Regions from separate parts of the Homo sapiens genome. Here region 2 is linked to region 1. The links are contacts of gene promoters, found by promoter capture Hi-C in blood cells and fetal thymus (Javierre and others, 2016). All regions are on one chromosome and are shown on one strand. Each heading gives the region's core, a stretch centred on a gene start or on the middle of the fragment in contact. The rest is flanking DNA. Distances are from core to core; before and after follow the strand shown. Region 1 holds the start of ARL8A (ARF like GTPase 8A). Region 2 overlaps UBE2T (ubiquitin conjugating enzyme E2 T).

Region 1 (7,423 bases), core at 2,309-4,808:
CAGATTATGACTTAATTTCCCTGCTAATGCCTCCCTGTCTCATAGGCTCCTCATTTAAGGTTGGAAGTAACCTGAAGTCATGCAGCCCAACCTCTTGTCTCAGACTTCAGTCCCTTCTGCCCCATCCCCTCTTGGGTCAGTTCCAACTATCAGAAAGTTCTTTATATTGAGTTAACAATCCGGCCGGACATGGTGGCTCATACCTGTAATCCCAGCACTTTGGGAGGCTGAGGCAGGCAGATCACCTGAGGTCAGGGGTTCGAGACCAGCCTGGCCAACATGACGAAACCCCATCTCTACTAAAAATACAAAAATTAGCCAGGCATGGTGGTGTATGCCTGTAATCCCAGCTACTCGGGAGACTGAGGCAGGAGAATTGCTTGAGCCTGGGAGGCGGAGGTTGCAGTGAGCCGAGACTGTACCACTGCACTCCCAGCCTGGGTGATAGAGCAACACTCTGTCTCAAAAAAAAAAAAGAAAAAAGAAAAAAAAGAAAAAAAAATCTATCATTCCTAGAATGTCCACCCATTGTTCCTAAGTCCCCTTGGGCACTCCAAGACTAGTTATTCCATAGGACAGTCTTTGACACTTTTAAATATTTGAAAATGACCCTGTTGTTTCCTAGGACAAAACATCTCCCACTTTTCTAGCATCACAACTTTTTCAGAACTCAAAGGATGTTTTAGGTTCCTTTTTTTTTTTTGAGACGGAGTTTCGCTCTTGTTGCCCAGGCTGGAGTGCAGTGGCGGCACGATCTTAACTCACTGCAGCCTCCGCCTCCTGGGTTCAAGCAATTCTCTTGCCTCAGCCTCCCAAGTAGCTGGGATTACAGGTGGCCACCACCATGCCTGGCTAATTTTTGTATTTTTAGTAGAGATGGGGTTTCACCATGTTGGCCAGGCTGGTCTCGAACTCCTAGCCTCAGGTGAAACCCCCACTTTGGCCTCCCAATTGCTGGGATTACAGGCGTGAGCCACCATGCCCGGCTGATGTTTCAGGTTCTTAGAAGCAGTGTATATAATTTCTTTCCAGCTCACATTAACCTGCTGAGCAGCTAGACACACTAAACTCAATTTCTATTTACAGCCAGACCTCATAGGGTGAGTAGAAAAAACCCAATGGCGAAAGATCTGAGACAAACAGAGGCCAAATGAACAGGCACAGGTAATTCAGAAATTCAGTGGTAGGCATGGGAACAGAGCCCAGGGGTCCCAACTCTTCGTTTCTTTCTGGAAGACACTCAACTGTGATTATACACGGGGTGGGCAGCAATGCCAGTGTGGTAGCCCCAGAGGATCTGAAAACACTGGAGTGACCGGGACACTGGAATTCCAACTGCAGCCCACATGGGGTGGTTTTCCTTGGGAAGCCTCTCTAAAGAAGGGAATTTAGCTTGCCTGCTCTTTTAGAATGTGCCAGCGGAAGTGGCAAATTTAAGATTAAAAAGGGGACCTTGTGGGCTGGAGATGGGGTGCTTTTCCTGTATATCACAGGAACTCTTGACCCTGGCAGGGGAATTTGGGACTCTTGGGTTCTGTTTCTGGCCTGCTATAGTCTCCAACTCTCTGGATATGATGCTGGTCTAGAGGGGGCCCTCCTGTCAAAGGCTCAACTGCAGACCCAGAAACCGAACCCACCCGGGTACCTGTGGATCCCTGTCCCAGAGCACAGCTATAGTAACACCCTGGGGAACGAGGAGATACCTAGGCCCAGCTGCATTTCTCAGACCTAAACGCCTAGAACCCAAGCCACCTAGGCCTGCAGAGTCAGGTCAGAGTCCAGGTGTTATGTGCCTGCTCTGGGAATCCAAGAGCCTAAGTCAATGCCAAGTTTAACCAGAGGGTCTCTGACCCCAAGGGCAGAGCCTAGGCAGACAGAGCCCAGGGGTGTTAGCTCCGAAAATTACTGTGCCAAAACCGCAGCATTGGCCTGAAGATCCTGCCCTGTCAGGTCAGGAGACAGGAGACACTGGGTCGAGAAAGGGCAGAGGTCATTTGCAGAGCATGTTTGGGAAAGGAAGCCAGTGTTCAATTGTGTAACCACAGGATGCCCGCCCCTCGAGCTTTCCATCTGCCTTCATGCCTCAGGTCCAATGAAGTGACGTCCCCTGCCTTCTAGGACGCTGAGAACTGTCGAGGAGGCCCATCTTCTGCAAGGTGGGGCAACAACACGGACAGGTAGAGGTACCTAGGCCGGCTGGATACATTCCTCTGCTGACCTATCTCATCAGTATCTTTGGTTACTATCTGGCCAACTCACAGTTGTGGGAAACCTCAGCTTTGGGACTGGGGCCAGGTCCCTGGACAACCCCAGCCCCTGTCCCATGCTTCCTCGACCCACAAGCCCTGTCTAGCCTGGCTCTGACAGGCAGGCCGCAGCCATTACGGCAGCCTCAGCTCACACCCATGGAGCTCATCTTCCCCTTTTTTGAGAGAGATTTTAACTCCTTCCCCACCACTCCCCTGGCGCTGAAAGACTTACAATCACCCACTTCAGTGTTGACGACCCAAAGCCCTTAGAGCCACTCTCCCAAGGCCCCAGTGGGCCGTGCCCCTACACCTCATCCTCTCTTGTCGGGAGCACCTGCTCCTGCAAACTTCTGAGCCAGACGGAGTCTCCAAACTCCCGTTACCATGCGATCCTCCCTGGACCCCCGGCTAGACACTGCGGGTCGGGGAGAAGTTGGGGAGGAGTCTGGGCTTGAGCCAAGGGCCTCAGCTGACTCCTCTACCCCGGGGGATACCTCCCCTCCCCCTCAATAGGGCCGGGGCTTCCTCTTCCGGCAAGGAGGGGTTAAGCCCTCTGGGTGGGGCTGGGCTTGCCCAAACCCCCTCCTCAAGCCTCTCGGCCGCCCCGTCCCGTGACCCTCTACCCGCGGGACAGGAAGGCCCGTGCACTTTCGCCCCGTCATGCCCCCTTGCGCGGGGGCCAGAGGGGGCCCGTCTCAGCCGGCAGCGGGTCCCTCCTGCTTCGAGAGCCCCTCGGTGCCGCCTGCCCCGTGGCACCGGCCCTGTCTGTTCGTCCCCCTTCCCCTGCCCCCAGCCGTGCAGTACCGGCCCGGGTGAGAGAGCGGGTCGCGCGCCGCCCCGGTCCCCCACGGCACGGGCCGTACTAGGCCCCAAGCGCTCGGGGCCGGCTCCTCCCCCGCCCGGCGCCCGGCCGTGCCCGGCTATGCCAGGCGGCGACCCCGGCTCAGCAGGGCGCGGCGCGGGCGGGGACAGGCCCGACCCGCGGCCCGCGCCCGGGGACCCCGCGCCCGACGCCCTCGTACCGCGATCACGTTGACGAAGGTGGTCTTGCCCGAGTACTGAAGCCCGACCAGCGTGAGCTCCATCTCCTCCTTCCAGAATAGGGCCTTGAACCAGTCCAGCAGCTTGTTGAACAAAGCGATCATGGTCGCTGCCGCCGGCCCCGCCCGGTGCCAGGTCCCCGCCGCCCCTCGCTGCCCTCGCGCTGCGGCCCGGAGCGGCCCCTCCCCGGTACGGCCCGGGTCCCGCGGCTCGGTGCGGGCGGAGGCTCGAGCGCGGCTGCCGACGACTCGCTGCCCCGGAATCGGCTCGCCGATGGGTGTGGCTTCCGCGCCCTCCTCCTCCGCCGCCGCCGCCGCCCTCCCTCGCGGCCGGGCCGTGTCCTGCTCGCACCCGAGCGCGCGCTCCTCCCTCGCTGGAGCCGGGGGGCCAGGGGCCGCACCCGCAGGTGGGGTGAGCAGGGAATCCGCAGGTGGGGTGAGCAGGGAATCCGCAGGCTTCAGCGGCGGGGGTTGACCGGCAGCTGGCGTCGAGAGGCGCTTGGGAAATGGGGTCTAATTTATTTTAGACCCTGTCCCCGACTGCCGCGCCCTGACTGGCACCCCCTTTCTTAAAGGGTGGTGGGCTCGAGGTGGGTGAGGTTCCGGTTAAGCAGGAGCCTTTTCAGGTTGAAGGAGAGTGGGTCACCCACTTCCCAGGACACGGAGATGAGATCTCTACGACAGGGAGGCAGATGGAGGCTTTTTTGTCCCTGAACCCTTGCCTCTGAGCATTCCTGGGTACAGTCCCATCCTCTCAAAATGCACCCAGTGCAGAGGGACAACCGTATTCGGGTCTTTTAATACTCCATCTTGTTTTGTTCACCACAATTTACCCCGACCACTTGTTAGGAAGCCTCTGGCCCCAAGTGAAACGGACGCTTGAACTTGCTCCGGATTTTTACCAGCATCCCCAAGATACCCAAACAGATACAGTCCTGGCAGGGGGTTTTCAGTGAGGAACGTCTGTGACAAAGGAAAATGTTGCCCTGTTTTGGTGAAAAGCAGAGTATTCTTCAGGAGGAGAAGTGATAGTTCTCCTCTTGAAGTGGGTCTGGAGTGCCTGCAAAGATGCCTTACTCCTGCCCCTCTCCTTGCAAGACCCACCCATAGGACCTGCTCAGGCAGGCTGACAACCTCAGCTGGCAGTCCCGGGTAGGCTCAGGCTTCGGGCAGTCCCCAGCCTATGCTGGCTGCCCGTTGGGGTTTGGTTTTCAAATGTAGTCATATGTAGTCTATTGTTTTAGTCAAAAGTGGGTAAACTATCAATATCAACCATATCTGTCCAATCAACTGGAGTTAGATGACCCCAAATAGTCAAACAGTTACCAAAGTAGAAGAATCACAAGGTTTCGGCTAGCATAATATTGTTTTTTTTTTTTTTTTTGATGGGGTCTCACTGTGTGGCCCAGGCTGGAGTGCAGCGGTGGGATCTCGACTCACTGCAGCCTCCACCTCCTCGGGCTCAGGTGATTCTTCTACCTCAGCCTCCCGAGTAGCTGGGACTACAGGCATGCGCCACCATGCCAGCCTAATTTTTGTATATTTGGTAGAGACGGGGTTTTGCCATGTTGTCCAGGCTGGTCTCGAAGCCCTGAGCTCAAGCCATCTGCCTGCCTCAGCCTCCCAAAGTGCTGGGATTACAGGCATGAGCCTGGCCAATATTCTGGTTTATTAAGCACCATCTTTCTAACCTCTGCCCTTTATAAGTCCTCCTCTAGCTCCTAAGATAAAGGCTATGGACTGAATGTTTGTGTCCCCCCAAATTCATAGGTTGAAGTCCTAATCCCTAAAGTGATGGTATTAGGAGGTGATTAAGTCATGAGGGTAGAGCCTTATAAAGGGGGCCGGTGGGATTAGGGGGAAGAATACCAGCCCACAACCTTTTCACCATGCAAGGACAGAAAGAAGGCTCTGCCTAATAGCCAGACACTGAGTCTGCAAGGGTCTTGATCCTAGACTTCCCAGCTTCCAGAACTGTGAGCAACACATTTCTTTTTTTCTTTTTTCTTTTTTTTTTGAGATGGAGTCTTGCTCTGTCATCCAGGCTGGAGTGCAGTGGCATGATAGCTCACTGCACCCTCCACCTCCAGGGTTCAAACAATTCTTCTGCCTCAGCCTCCCGAATAGCTGACTACAGGTGTGTGCTACCACGTCCGGCTAATTTTTTGTATTTTTAGTAGAGACAGCGTTTCACTGTGTTAGCTGGATCTCCTGACCTCGTGATCCGCCTGCCTCGGCCTCCCAAAGTGCTGGGATTACAGGCATGAGCCACCACGCCAGGCCAGCAATACATTTCTGTTGTTTAGAAGCCACATGGTTTACGGTAGTGTGAATTGTTACAGCTGCCTGGGTAGGCTATGAGGGTCCACCCTGTCTCACTTCCTAAATTGACTTTGGTTTCACCTTACTTTATGTCCTTGGAAGTGCTAGAAAAGTGCATATCCCAAGGGCAAAGATTTGCAGCCTGCCTGTCCCTGGTCTGCAGTCTTTCTCTCTTGCTACAAAGAGGCCCCAGAGGGCCAAGAAGAAGATGGAAAGAAGGAATGAGTCAGTCATCCAAGAAGTCTTTATTTTCCCACTTGGTTACTGTTCTGGAGCTTGTACCCTCTGAGCTCTGAGATGGGGTTGGGGGGACAGTGCCAGGGAGGGCCTGTGGGGCTGTGCAGTTGCTTCCCTCTGGGCTGGCTCTGAGCCCAGGGCAGGATCAGGCACTTGAGAGCCCCCCACCGAGCCTCATTGGCATAGACAGTCGTGCCTCTCACAGGGCTCAGGGGAGGTGGAGGTGTGGGCAAGTCCATCCCCAAGGCTGTAAGGAAGGAGCAGCTCCTCCATAAGGCCAAGCAGAAGCATTAGGGAAATCATCCTCAGTTTTAGCACTGCGTGTTCTTCAGGAGAGAAGTCCTGAGTGAGGAGGCCCAGCTGTTCTCCAGATCCAACTCCTCGGGGGTTTCCACAGAGAGCTGGTATCAAGGCAGCTGTCAGGGGCGGCGTGCCTGGTGATGCGGCATCTTACCTTCATCCCCATCTCAGAATGGGCAGCCAGTCTCAGATTCAAGGAGGAGGAATCCTGAGGTGTGGCGTTCAGTCCTGAGGTAGACCTGAGGTCCCCTGGAAATTGTGTTGATGCTGAGATGGATGAGGGGTGCTCATTCTCTCAGGTAGACAGTGAGGAGTCCTGGTTCAGCCGAGCCTCCATGTCTGCATGGATGGTTATGACCCTGATTGTTTTTGGAAACAGCCAAGCTCTCTAGGTGTACTCAGCAAATGCAAGGTATAGTGGGTCCTGCATACCCAGGGTATTATTTGAGCCATGGAAGCAAAACAGAGACTGCTTAGCCTCCCTAAGAGTAGTTGGTGGGAGTGGCCAGCAACCATGGAGGCAGGAGCAGCTCCTCTTTGCCTCTGAGTAGTCCCCACATGTTCCCTCTTCCAGAGATTTCAACTGCCAGGCCTGGTCACCTCTGTAGCCTACTCTTATGACACATGGGTGGAGGCAAGGGTAACCAGAGTCCTTGTTCTTTCTTTTGATTGGGGTCATCCAGCCCTTCCGATGTGTGGTCAGGGAGCAGAGTCACTGATAGGATGTTGAGACTTGGAGATCAGGACCAGACTTTTCCCCATTCTTGCATCTGGCCTGTGCTTGGGCAGGACCTCGGGTGAAGGATGATCTTGGAATCACCCTTTTGTCAGCCCCAGGAAGGAGTGGCTGGAGTGGCTTCTAGAAACTTCTCTCATTACTTTTCCCTCATGGCAGCTAAGCACTTATGTTCATGTTATAGAACAGGAAACTGAAGCTCACAAAGAGTGTCTCAGAGAACACCAGGACACCTGGGCTTCTTTCTTTGTCTGTCATAAATGCCAGCTCCTGTCTTTAAGTTCAGAGAGACATTGGAGGTTCCCCTTACTGTCCATCTGGGGCCAACAGAGGAAGCAGAGGAGTGGCCAGTGTTGAAGACCTGGAATCCGGCCCCTTGTCCTTACTGCTGCTGCTTCCTGTGACTGCAAGCACCACTAAGGAGGCACTCCTTCCCCACACCAACCCAAGGGGTACCCCCAGATCACTCGGCCCACTTTCCCCAGACCCACCTTCCCAGGCTTGAGGGAGGTAGGCACCTGGGCCACCGGAGGGTGGCA
Region 2 (6,270 bases), core at 2,099-4,598, 190 kb after region 1:
TTTAACAAGTCCTCATGCAACACACCACAATGCTAATGTACTCAAAAAGTTAATGGTGTCAAACAAAGGACATATAGAAAATCTAAAGCAGAAGTTGCAAAATGCTGGCCACAAGACCAAATACAACCTATAGATTTGTTTTGTTTGGACCGCAGTATTCTAATCATGTATGTTTCCCATCTGGCCTCACAGATATTTGAGATGGTTATCTTTGATCTAAACACTGCTTCACTGCTTTAAATCTTGGCTATAAATCAGCATAAGGTATAATAAAAAGTCAAAGAAGCAAGAAATGTCAAGCAAACCTTTTATAAATGTAAACAAATTTGGGTAGAAAGATGGTAGGGCACTCTGACCTTATAACTGCTCCTTACTTTAGAAGAATACACAAAATGTTTTATTTCAGCACAATCTTCAATAGGGTCATGACTTTCATCATATACATGATTTGATACCTACGAGCTCGCAGGTCATCCATTTGGTCTTTATCTTGCCAACATGTGATGCCTGGGGGTGGCTCTGTGGCTAACATGTGCAGCTCTCTCTTCAGACGTGAAGCTCTCTGCATGATCCCCAAGTAGAAGGAACCACACACAGTTCACTGCTCCACACTAAGAGCTGCCTGGGATGCACTGGAGGAGAAAAGAGGTGACCATAAAATCATCAGCAATAATGACTATGAAGTTTTCAGCAAACAGCTTCAATGTAGTGAGGGTGGGGGACAGAGTCCTCTTTTTTGTTTTGAGACACAGTTTCACTCTGTCACCCAGACTGGAGGGCAGTGACACCATCTCAGCTCACTGCAATTTCCACCTTCTGGGTTTGAGCAATTCTCATGCCTCAGCCTCCAGAGTAGCTGGGATTACAGGCGTGCACCACCATGCCCAGCTCATTTTAGTATTTTTAGTAGAGACAGGGTTTCGCCATGTTGGCCAGGCTGGTCTCAAATGCCTGACCTCAGGTGATCCGCCTGCCTTGGCCTCCCAAAGTGCTGGGATTACAGGCGTGAGCCAATGCACCCAGCTTTTTTTTTTTTTTTTTTTTTTTTTTTTAGAGGCAGGGTCTTGCTCTGTCACCCAGGCTGGAGTGCAGTGGCACAATCTCAGCTCACTGCAATCTCCACCTGCTGGGCTTAAGTGATCCTCCCATCTCAGCCGCCTATGTAGCTGGAAGTACAGGTGTGTGCCACCACGCCAGTCCAAGATTCCTCTTATTAATCTCTATTCTGACAAGGGAATCTGAGTTTTTCCACTCCCTTCTTGTGAACGTTTATCTATACAAGCAAATATATTTTTAAAATAAAGAACTAAAAATGCAAAAAGTTCTACAAAAAATAAAAACACTAAAGGTTTTAAATAATGGGTGTTTCCACTGATAAATTATAAACTCATGAGGCCAGGCCTGGGTCTGATTTTGCTTACTATTGTAGCCTTAGCATGCCTGTCATAGTAAGGGATTTGACAAATATTTGCTGTTGTGAGGAAGTCTACATATGCTTTGTGAGAGCAAGAATGGTAGAGATAGTCAACATTCTCAGGTACAAACAAATGTTAAATGTCCGAGTTTCTCTCCATGTGCTATGGATTCCACCTTCTCCCAATCTTCAGGGATACCATTCCATCAATTATTCCATCTTTCTTACCCTCAATGTTCAAATATGCTCAAAGTCTCTCTCACCTAAAACCAACACCTACACACATATTCACCCAACACTCTTCTCAACTCTAGTTCTCTCTTTACTAACCAAGCAAAGGACACTAATCCCTTTTGTTTTTTAGACGGAGTCTCGGTCTGTTGCCCAGGCTGGAGTGCAGTGGTGCGATCTCGGCTCACTGCAACCTCAGCCTTCCGGGTTCAAGCAATTCTCTGCCTCAGCCTCCCGAGCAGCTGGCATTACAGACGCCCGCCACCACGCCCGGCTACTTTTTGTATTTTTAGTAGAGATGGGGTTTCACCATCTTGGCCAGGCTGGTCTTGAACTCCTGACCTCGTGATCCACCCACCTCAGCCTCCCAAAGTGCTAGGATTACAGGCGTGAGCCACCGCGCCCAGCCAACACCAATCCTTTAATGTGTTACAAATATCCCCCAGTTTGTGCTTATCTTTCCATGTTGTACATGGTGTCTTTCAATAAACACATACTCTTAACATAATCAATCTTAAAATCTCTTTCTTTACATTTATACTTTGTGTATTAAATTTTTCCTTACCCCCAAATGTAGAGATATTCCTACATAGCCTTCAAATATTTTATAATTTTGCTATTCAAATTTAAATATTGAATCCACTAGGAATTGAATTTTATGTATAGTGAGTGAGGTGGGGGTCCAATTTAAAGTTTTTCCCCATATGAATAGTCAATTGTTCTAACATCATTTACTGAATCAGTCCATCCTTTCCCTGCTGATATTACTATAAATTAAATTTCTATATGTGTGGATTTGTTTTGGGACTCTTGAATTTGTTCCACTGGTCAAGTGGATTATTTCTGAGACAATACTCCACTGTTTGAATTACTATAGCTTATTCATTTTTTATTATTTAAATTTTTTCCCAGCTTTACTGAGGTATAACTGGCAAATACAAATTGTATATATTTAAGGTGTACAATGTGATGTTTTACTATAGCTTATCCACCTGGTCTTTTTCTTCAGGAATGACTTGATTATTCTTGACTCTTTGCTCTTCCATATAAATTTGAGAATCAGTTCATAAGTCCATAAATATATACATAAATATGTATATCTGAAATTATAATCCAAATCATAACAGGGTTCTGTGGTTTGGATTGTAATTTTATTGATGCTATAGATCAATTTGGAGATAACTGATATCTTTATGATATTGAATCCTAAGATCCATGAACACGCTGTTTCAGTCTTTTTTTTGATGCTTTCCAAAGGTTTTATAATTTTCTCTATAAAGCTTTATCTAATTTTTGTTAGACTGATTTCTAAGTATTTATATTTTTGCTATCTTTTCAAAAACACTATTTTCTACCCATTTCTTACTGATACATGTAAATCTAATTGATTTTTTTTTATTTTTTTGAGATGGAGTTTTGCTCTTGTTGCCCAGGCTGGAGTGCAATGGTGTGCTCTTGGCTCACCGCAATCTCCACCTCCTGGGTTCAAGCGATTCTCCTGTCTCAGCCTCCTGAGTAGCTGGCGTTACAGGCATGCACCATTAGGCCCAGGTAATATTGTATTTTTTTAGTAAAGACAGGGTTTCTCCATGTTAGTGAGGCTGGTCTCGAACCACGGACCTCAGGTAATCCACCCATCTCAGCCTCTCAAAGTGCTGGGATTACAGGCATGAGCCACCTCGCCCAGCCAATCTAACTGATTTTTAACCAAAGCCTTAGTAATGCTAATGATGAATCTATTTGGGGTGGGGAGCAGTCTGGGAATGGTAATTCCACACTGCCAATCATGTCATCCACATATAATCAAGTTTATTTCTTCCCTTCTAATTCTTTTCCTGCCTTCTATTCTGACAGTAACTTCTAGTACAATGTTAAATGAAAAAGCTGATAGCTGGGCCAAGCATGCTGGCATGAGCCTGTAATCCCAGCTACTCAGGAGGCTAAGGTGGGAGGATGACCTGAGCCCGGGGAGACTGAGGCTGTAGTGAGCCATGATTGTGCCACTGCACTCCAGCCTGGGAGGCAGAGTGAGACCCTGTCTAAACAACAGCCAAAAAAAAAAAAGAAAAAAGAAAGAAAGAAAAGCTGATAGTTGGCATTCTTGTCAGATTTCTAACCTTAAAGGGAAAGCTTTTAACACTATGCTAATCAGTAAGACTGGCCTATAACTGTCCTTTCTAATTTTGTCTTTATTAGCTATCAAGGTTATGCTAGCCTCCTAAAATGAGTTAGGGAGTATTGCCTCCTTTTTTTTTTTTTTTTTTTTTTTAACATATTGTGGATTAGTCCAAGAGATAATTTGTTACTAGGTTGTCTGGAATAACTCCATCTGATCCTGGTGTTTTCATTTTGAGAAAATTTTAACCTACAAATCCAATTTACTTGAATCTTATTCAAGTTATTTATTCTTGCATCAATTTTGGCAAGTTAAATTTTTCCACAAATTTATCTATTACATGCAATTTTCAATTTATTTGTATAATGTTTTATCTTTTTAATCTGTAGTTATCTATGGTTATGTTTCCATTTTCATTTCTAACACTGTTTATCTGTGCCATCTTTTCTTTGATCAGTCTTGCTGGGCATGTATCAACCAAAAGGAAGTTCAAGTTTTGGTTCCACTGGAAAGAATAAAAATTTATGACAAAAATAGAAAATGAGAAAAAATACTTTTTTCTTAAAAATAAAGATTTTTTGCTGGAAGTGTTTTGTACTTCAAGATCACGCCACTGCACCCCAGCCTGGGCGATAGATTAGGACTCTGTCTCAAAAAAAAAAAAAAAAAAAAAAACATCTTCGTCCAAACACGTACTATACATTTTTTCTTGTCATTATTCCCTAAACAATACAGTGTAACAACAATTTACTTAGCATTTTATTAGGTATTATAAGTAATCAAGAAATAATTCAAAGTATATGGGGGTGGGGCTGGGCACGGTGGCTCACACCTGTAATTGCAGCACTTTGGGAGATCAAGGCAGAAGGATCACTTGAGGCCAGGGGTTCAAGACCAGCCTGTGCAACAAAGGAGAACCCCATCTCTAAAATAAATAAAGTATATGGGAGGACATGCAGAGGTTCAAGACCAGCTTGTGAGGCCTGGCACAGTGGCTCACGCCTGTAATCCCAGCACTTTGGGAGGCTGAGGCAGGTGGATCACTTGAGATCGGGAGTTCCAGACCAGCCTGGCCAACATGGGGAAATCCCCTCTCTACTAAAAATATAAAAATTAGCCAGCTGCGGGGGTGGAGGCCTGTAATCCCAGCTACTCAGGAGGCTGAGGCAGGAGAAAGGCTTGAACTCAGAAGGTGGAGGTTACAGTGGGCTGAGATCGCGCCACTGTACTCCAGCCTGGGCGACAGAGCAAGACTCTGTCTCAAAAACAAAACAAAACAAAACTGGCCAGGCATGGTGGCTCACACCTGTAATCCCAGCACTTTGGTAGGCCAAGGTGGGTGGGTCATTTGAGGTCAGGAGTTTGAGACCAGCCTGGCCAACATGAGGAAACCCCATCTCTATTAAAAATACAAAAATTAGCAAAGTGTGGTGGTGCACGCCTGTAATCCCAGCTACTTGGAAGGCTGAGGCAGGAGAATGGCTTCAACCAGGAAGGCGGAGGTTGCAGTGAGCCAAGATCGCGCCACTGCACTCCAGCCTGGGTGGCAGAGCGAGACCCTTTCTTAAAAAAAAAAAAAAGAAAAAAAGAACCAGCCTGTGCAACAAAGGATATCCCCATCTCTTAAATATAAAGTATATGGGAGGACATGCATAGGTTATATGCAAATACTACACCATTTTATATCTGGGACTTGACCTTTGGTGGATTTGGGATCTGCAGGATGTCCTGGAACCATCCCTCATGGATACAGAGGGTTGACTGTACAGTAAAAGTATCACAAGTATAAAGTATACCTTTATATAAAATGAGAACAGTGGAAAGCCATGGTAAAAGGATTAGAACAAGCAAGACAATTTCTCCCAAGGAAGCAACCAGACTCCAGCCTCACTATGTTAACCAAAATTGGCATATGCCATTCTTTGGCTCAAATGCCATGAATAACTGCCTATTTTTCAGGGTATAAAGGTTCTTTACAATCTAACCCTTATATCCCGCCTTATATCCAGTATCTACTCTCCACAAACTCATGCTTCAGCCACACTGCACTATTCCTGCTGCCCATAAAAGTTTTATTCTTTCACACCTTTAGATATTAAAGGTTACATATTAAATCACAACTCCTTCTCCAGTAATGCCTCCCCACCACTCACACCTTTCCAACGTCACCCTCTGTGCGTCTACATCTATTTGCATCGTGTTCTAATTCACCTGACAGTTTCTTCTCCTTAGGAGGAATTCCTTGACAGCAGGTCCCTAGTCTTTTTTTGTATCAAGTCTGCAGTAAATTTGGATAATTAATGAACGAAACGTGGGTTTGGACCAGATGTTGAAGAAGACAAAAGAACAGGCCGGGCGCGGTGGCTCACGCCTGTAATCCCAGCACTTTGGGAGGCCGAGGCGGGCGGATCACGAGGTCAGGAGATCGAGACCATCCCGGCTAAAACGGTGAAACCCCGTCTCTACTGAAAATACAAAAAATTAGCCGGGCGTAGTGGCGGGCGCCTGT

What was found. The method cuts DNA at HindIII sites, captures the fragments that hold promoters and counts their contacts. A CHiCAGO score of 5 or more calls a contact.
Region 2: a contact is called between a fragment that was not itself captured here and the fragment with the promoter of ARL8A in region 1, in 4 of 17 cell types (naive CD8 T cells, fetal thymus, naive CD4 T cells and 1 more). The highest score is 7.3, in naive CD8 T cells.

Annotation. Positions count from the first base shown.
Region 1 is chr1:202,141,179-202,148,601 of GRCh38, forward strand. It overlaps ARL8A (ARF like GTPase 8A), which reads right to left and starts at 3,559. Exons shown (of 7, transcript NM_138795.4): 1 at 3,272-3,559. The coding sequence starts at 3,394. It overlaps PTPN7 (protein tyrosine phosphatase non-receptor type 7), which reads right to left. Exons shown (of 10, transcript NM_002832.4): 10 at 5,838-7,423. RefSeq lists silencers at 2,500-2,549, 3,050-3,759. The HindIII fragment of the contact is 25,746 bases long and covers 1-7,423 here.
Region 2 is chr1:202,335,187-202,341,456 of GRCh38, forward strand. It overlaps UBE2T (ubiquitin conjugating enzyme E2 T), which reads right to left. Exons shown (of 7, transcript NM_014176.4): 2 at 460-632. The coding sequence starts at 568. Among named protein-coding and RNA genes, the nearest start is that of UBE2T, 3.6 kb to the right of the region's middle. RefSeq lists enhancers at 1,355-1,879, 1,880-2,403, 5,820-6,270. The HindIII fragment of the contact is 850 bases long and covers 2,924-3,773 here.